Linked DNA regions of Homo sapiens: region 2 is linked to region 1. The links are contacts of gene promoters, found by promoter capture Hi-C in blood cells and fetal thymus (Javierre and others, 2016). All regions are on one chromosome and are shown on one strand. The core of a region is centred on a gene start or on the middle of the fragment in contact, and the rest is flanking DNA. Distances in the headings are between cores, read along the strand shown.

What was found. Contacts are between HindIII fragments. The CHiCAGO score rates a contact against its expected background, and 5 or more counts as called.
Region 2: a fragment that was not itself captured here is called in contact with the fragment with the promoter of TRIB3 in region 1 in 1 of 17 cell types (total CD8 T cells); the score reaches 5.6 in total CD8 T cells.

What each region holds. Positions count from the first base shown.
Region 1 is chr20:379,209-382,365 of GRCh38, reverse strand. TRIB3 (tribbles pseudokinase 3) reads right to left here and starts at 1,606. Exons shown (of 4, transcript NM_021158.5): 1 at 1,197-1,606. RefSeq lists an enhancer at 1-487 and silencers at 173-762, 1,033-1,142, 1,163-1,322. The HindIII fragment of the contact is 2,528 bases long and covers 1-2,208 here.
Region 2 is chr20:644,493-647,649 of GRCh38, reverse strand. SRXN1 (sulfiredoxin 1) reads left to right here. Exons shown (of 2, transcript NM_080725.3): 2 at 1-1,035. Among named protein-coding and RNA genes, the nearest start is that of SRXN1, 7.1 kb to the left of the region's middle. The HindIII fragment of the contact is 1,157 bases long and covers 1,083-2,239 here.

The DNA of each region.
Region 1 (3,157 bases), core at 357-2,856:
CCCCGGCCATCCCTCAGAGCCTGTTGGGGCCTGGGATAAGCTCCACCCAGATGGGGACAGATGCGGTAACTGAGTCTATACATCTTGGGCAAGGCATTTTGCAGACCACACTGCAGAATAGAATCTGTGATGTGGAATGAAAGCAGCCCCTAATATCTACCTCTTGCTGTTCCCTGCCACACTCGGGACCCAGGGAAATGAGGGCGGGTTACATCAAGCGCAAGCGCGCGCGCGCACGCACACACACACACACACACACACACACAGCCCTCCCAGCTGTCACACCCATGGTCTACCCGAGCAAGGCCGCACCCCCACCCCGCCCCGCCCCCCGCAGCCAGGCCCCTCCCGTGGGAGCCCAAGCGAAAGGCGGCGGGTGTCCGAGTCAGAAGTTTCAGCGGAAATTGAAGCGCGGCCCTGGGACAGGAGGGGGGTGAGGCAGAGGGAAGGAGGTGGCTGTCGTCCCCCGCCCTCCCCGGTCTGCAGGCACAGCACACACCGCAGACACGCGCGCACCGTCCACCTGCAAACCCGGAGCCGCGCACTGGGGAGAACCAGCGGCCCTGCCGGGCCAGAGATCGCGCGCTGCGCCCCCGCTCCCACTCCCTCGGCTCCCCCGCTCCAGGGCACCCCAGCCCTGTCCCGGCGGTGTCCCCTGCACCGCCAACCCCTGCCACCAAGTGCCCAGCCCTCCAGACAGCTCTCACCATCTCCTGAGACACAGGTGCTCGGGACCCACCCTCACCCAGGACTCTCCCCTGCGGGTTCACGAGGACCCCCTCGGATCCCCCGCCACCCCCAGAGTCCTCCAGTGCCCCCCACAAGCCCCTCACCGCACCACACGACTCCCCTATCCCGCACTCACGCAAAACAGACCCCCGCACGCCCTCCTCTAGGGGTGACGGCCGGACACCTCCGTCCCTGGCTTCCCCAGCCCAACTCGGGCGACCCCACGCTCCGCGGGGCCGCGTCACCTGAAGCCCGGGGGGAGCACTCAGCCCAGGCCCGGATCAAAAGGGATCTGACCTGGCCGCGCCCCGACGGCGGGGTCTGTGAAAAGGTGTGTAAGGGGCGTGCGTGCGTGTAACACGCGGCAACACGCAGACGCCCAGAGGCTTCCGGCGCCCCCTTCCCCGGCCGCCCCCTCCCGCCCCCCGGCCTCCGGGCGAGTCCGCAGGCCGCACCCCGCCGAGTACCTCGCCCCGTCGTTCCGCGTGGGCCCGGGCGCCGCCGGGGCTCAGAGCCTCCAGGGCACCAGCAGGTGGGCCGGCCCGCTGCGCTGCTGCCGAGCTCGGGATCCCAGCCCAGCTCCAGCCCTGCCCGGGTCCTAGCAGCGGACGCGCGCGGAGCCGCCTCCACTTCCGCTGCGAGTCTCGTGCGCGCCCGGCCCCCGGTCCGGGTGATGCAAACCGGAGCTAATCCCCCGGTCCGGGTGATGCAAACCGGAGCTAATCCCCCGGTCCGGGTGATGCAAACCGGAGCTAATCAGCCGCCGTCTGATGCCCTCGGGCCCGGGATCGCACCATCCCCCGCGCCGCGCCCGGGCCTCTCTCCTCTGCATCCGCTGCACCTGGGACCCGCCCTCGCTGGCCCCCTAGGGGCGTCTGGTCAGTGCAGACATCAGCCACGGACTCTCCCTATCACCTTGGAAAAAAAATTTGCTCTTTTTTTTTTTTTTTTTGAGACAGAGTCTTGCTCTGTCGCCCAGGCTGGAGGGCGGTGGCGCGATCTCGGCTCACTGCAAGCTCCGCCTCCCGGGTTCACGCCATTCTCCTGCCTCAGCCTCCCGAGTAGCTGGGACTACAGGCGCCCGCACCACGCCCGGCTAATTTTTTGTATTTTTAGTAGAGACGGGGTTTCACCTTGTTAGCCAGGATGGTCTCGATCTCCTGACCTCGTGATCCACCCGCCTCGGCCTCCCAAAGTGCTGGGATTACAGGCGTGAGCCACCGCGCCCGGCCAAAAATTTGCTCTTCTGAGCCTCGGTTTCCCCACCTATGAAATGGGAAGAACATTCCTCCTTCTCAGGATGGTGCTTAAAAGAGCAAACAGTGACTGTTGTCGGGGTGCTTCCCCTTTTTTATAAAGCACATTCCCAGCACTGCCTTATAAAACCTTTAGGAGAAGTGGACATGCGGGAATCTCCATTCTCCACATTCTACTGAGAGCCAGCCTGAGGCCCAGCTATGGGCAAGTGGTTCAGAAGCTTCAGGAAGGCCTATGGACTTAAGAGCTGACTCTGGGCTCAAAGGAACCACCGTGGCGCCCTTGGGAGGCCTAAGGTCTGCTGAGCTTCCCCGCGTCCCTTTGCTAGAGGCAGTGCGGCCTAGTGGTGAAGAGCCCCTAGAGCCAGCTGGCCTAAGAGTGCACTCCACCTCCGCTCCAACCCACAGTGCTACCCCAGAAAAGCTACCTAAAACCCTGCCTCAACTTCCTGCTCCATAAAATGGGCTCATAATTGCGCTCACTTCATAAAGTTGTTGTGAGGATTAAATAATTTAATATGTGTAAGACGCTTAGAACAGTGTGTGGCACATTGCGGATGCTCAGTGGAGTGTAAACAATGGAGACAGAGAGGGAAAGAGGCCTTTAATATGCTTGCACCCAAGGCCTGGGAGGGCTTGGTGCTACTTGATTTGGGGTGAAACACCCCTCTGCGTCCTAGGCGTCCAGCACCTTTCTTTTTTTTTCTTTTTTTGAGGCAGAGTTTCACTCGTTGCCCAGGATTGAGTGCGATGGCACGATCTCGGCTCACTGCAACCTCCACCTCCCGGGTTCAAGCGATTCTCCTGCCTCAGCCTCCCAAGTAGCTGGGATTACAGGCATGCGCTACTATGCCTGGCTAATTTTGTATTTTTAGTAGAGACAGGGTTTCTCCATGTTGGTCAGGCTGGTCTCGAACTCCTGACCTCAGATAATCCACCTGCCTCGGCCTCCCAAAGTGCTGAGATTACAGGCATGAGCCACCGCGCCCGGCCTGGGTCCAGCACCTTTCTTAGAAATCCCTTTTGATCTGAATTCACCAGTGTCAAAAAATAACTCCTCAGCTGGGTGAGCTGGCTCATGTCTGTAATCCTAGCACTTTGGGAGGCCAAGACGGGAGGATTGCTTGAGGCCAGGAGTTTGAGAACAGCCTGGATGACATAGTAAGACCCTG
Region 2 (3,157 bases), core at 412-2,911, 270 kb before region 1:
CTTACTCACTTGCCTGGCAGGTGACAGGCTGTTGGCTGGAATTGCTTGGTTCTCCTCCATGTGGCCTCTCCAGCAGGCTAGCTCAGGCTTATTCACATGATGGCTTCAGGATTCCAAAGAGAGTGAGAGTAGAAGCTGAAAGACTTCTTGAGTTCTTGGCCTGGAACTGGGACTAGGACAGTGTCACTTCTGCTAAGTTCTTTTGGTCAGAGCAAATCACAAGGCTTTACCCAGATTCAAGGGATGAGAAACAGACTACATGTCTTGATGAGGGGAACCACAAAGAGCTTGTGGCCATTTTTCACCTATCACAAATAATTTTGGATGGGTATTTATTTGGATAAAGGTATTTCCCTCTTCCCCCTTTCTCTCTGTCTCATGGGGCCTCACTCTGCCAAGTTGGAAGGCACTAAGACATTGTCCTGGCCCTCAGGGTCTAGGGGAAGAGGTGTTGGGGCAGGAAGTGAGTCTCTCCATGGGCTGGACCCACTGTAGTAGGAGTGCCTCCTTGTCTGCACTGCTGGTATGGGGTTAGGCCAGGTAGGACATTCCAGAGGGGCTTCTGAAAACCAAGAGTCCCTGGGGAAAGGGAACAGAGTAAGGCAGGCCTTGTTCTCACTGCCCTCTAAGGGAACTTGGTCACTCGGCACTTTTAAGCCTCAGTTTCTCCAGTTCAATAATAAGGACAAGAGCTTTTCCCATGCATTCTCTTTCCCCGGGAAAGTTGACTGAGGTGACCAGTAATAGAATTGAAAAGGGAGAGTGTCTTCAGTGCAATGTGGCATCCTGGATTGGGTCTTGGAACAAAAACAGGACATTAGTGGGAAAATTGGAAATCTGAAAAAAGTCTGAATTTTAGTTAATATACCAATTTCAGTCTCTTGGTTTTGACAGATGTACCATGGTGATGTAAGATGTTGACCTTGGGGTAGGCTGGGTGAAGGGTATACAGGAACTCTTTGTACTATCTCTGCAACTTCTCTGTAAATCTAGTATCATTCCAAAATAAAAGTTTATTTAATTTAAAAAAAAAAAGGGGGGGTGTGCAATTCCTTTAGACCAATGGTTCAGGGTCTCAAGCTTGTTTGCTAAATACCAGATTGCTGGGCCCCACCCCCACTTTCTTTTTTTTTTGAGACAGGGTCATGCCCTGTCACCCAGGCTGGAGTGCAGTGGCACGATCATGACTCACTGCAGCCTTGACCTCCCGGGGCTTAAGTGATCCTCCCACGTCAACCTCCTGAGTAGCTGGGACTACAGGTGCGCCCTTCTCATTTTTTTGTAGAGACAGGGTTTTGCTGTGTTCTCTGGGCTGGTCCTAAACTCCTGGGCACAAGCGATTCTCCCGCCTCAGCTTCCCAAAGTGCTGGGATTACAGACATGGCCACTGCCCCCGGCCCCCCAGAGTTTCTGATTGAGGCGAGTTGGGGCAGGGCCTGATAATTTGCTTTTCTAACAAGTTCCCAGATGTTGCTGATGCTGCTGTTCAGGGACCACATGCTAAGAGCTGCTAATAACTGCGTCAGTTATTTTCAAATACGGTGACTTCCCCACTTCCATCCCCAGTGGAATGAGTCTACTCATTCCCCCCAGCTTGTCTACTCATTAACTGTGTGACCTTGGGCGGTTCTGTCCCTTCCCTGGGGACTTCTTCCAGGCTGTCAAATGGATTGTGTACCCCTAAGGTTTGTAGCGAAGGTGAGGTGCCCCTGTCTTCTGTGAGTAAACTCCTCCTGTGCCCGCTGGGCTGGAATGAGAGTGAAGATGGTCGCCCCCTCCTGAAACAACTTTTCCTTCTTGCAGAGAAGACCCAACCAGACAGCGCTAAGGGCCCTGCCAGGCACTGCGAAGGAGGTGCAGAACAGATTCGGAGTAGAGGGGTACTGCTTGATCATTTAAGGAAGAGGAGCTGGGTTTTAAAGGGTGTAACCTGCTGGTAGCCGGAAGTTGCGTTTCCCTCTTACAGCAGCAGGTGGCGCTGCTCTCCGGCCCCCGCGGCAGGGCCGTCCCTCTGGCCTGCAAGAGCTACAGCTGTGGGAAGGGGCTGGATGCACGCGCAGGGCTGAAAGAGGCGGGATAGTTAACCCGGGTTCAGCCGGGATGAGTCTGGAGTTCAGGTTCTATTTATCAGCTCTTGTTCTGTAACCTTGCGCACATGTCTACCCATTCCTGTCTATACTGGGGGTGCTGGGCCAGAGAATCTCAGGCTCAGCAAAGGTGGTACCTCCTCCAAGAAGCTTCTGGGCTCCTACTGGCTGGGCTACCATGACCTACAGTGTCCCTCCCCAAAAAAACCTCTGCCCCCAGGAACTTGGCTCCAGTGAAAGGCAGTATGTGCCTTCACCGCCCTGGAACCCACCCACTTGACCGTGGTAGATTTAAATTTCCTTTTTTTTTTTTTTTTTGTTTTCATTTCACAAGGCTTTTTGTTGTTGTTGTTTTAGTAGAAATGGGGTTTCACCATGTTGGCCAGGCTGACCTTGAACTCTTGGCCTCAGGTGATCTGTCCGCCTCGGCCTCCCGAGGCACTGGGATTACAGGTGTGAGCCACCATGCCCAGCCATTTCACAAGTTTTATATAAGTATATTTACTTTTTAAAATGTGTTTGTTCGTTTGTTTGTGATGGGGTTTTGCTCTGTTACCAAAGCTGGCACGCAATGTTCTGATTATAGCTCACTGCAACCTCAAACTCCTGGGCTCAAGCCATCCTCCTGCCTCAGCCTCCCGAGTAGCTAGGACTACAGGCACCACCACACCCAGCTAATTTTGTTTTTAACGTTTTATAGAGACCAGGTCTTGCTCTGTTGCCTGGGGTGGTTGGTCTCCAACTCCTGGCCTCAAGTGATCCTCCCGCCTTGGCCTCCCAAAGTATGATATTACAGGCATGAGCCACTGCATTCAGCCATATTTACCGTTTAAACATTAAAATATTAAAATGTTAAATAATTAAATATTAGAAATTTAAAGTATTAGAGGCAAGCGGAAGCCCACCACAAAACCTAGTCCTGATTATTCCTTTGCCCTCTTGGGACAGTTACCTTTATGAATTTGGCATAGAGCCTCCCAGACTCTTATCTAATTTAATAGTAATGAATGTGCGTTTAAGTAAAAAATGTTTTCTTTTTTTGCGCTGTTTTGTGGATTGCTTTTCTCCCT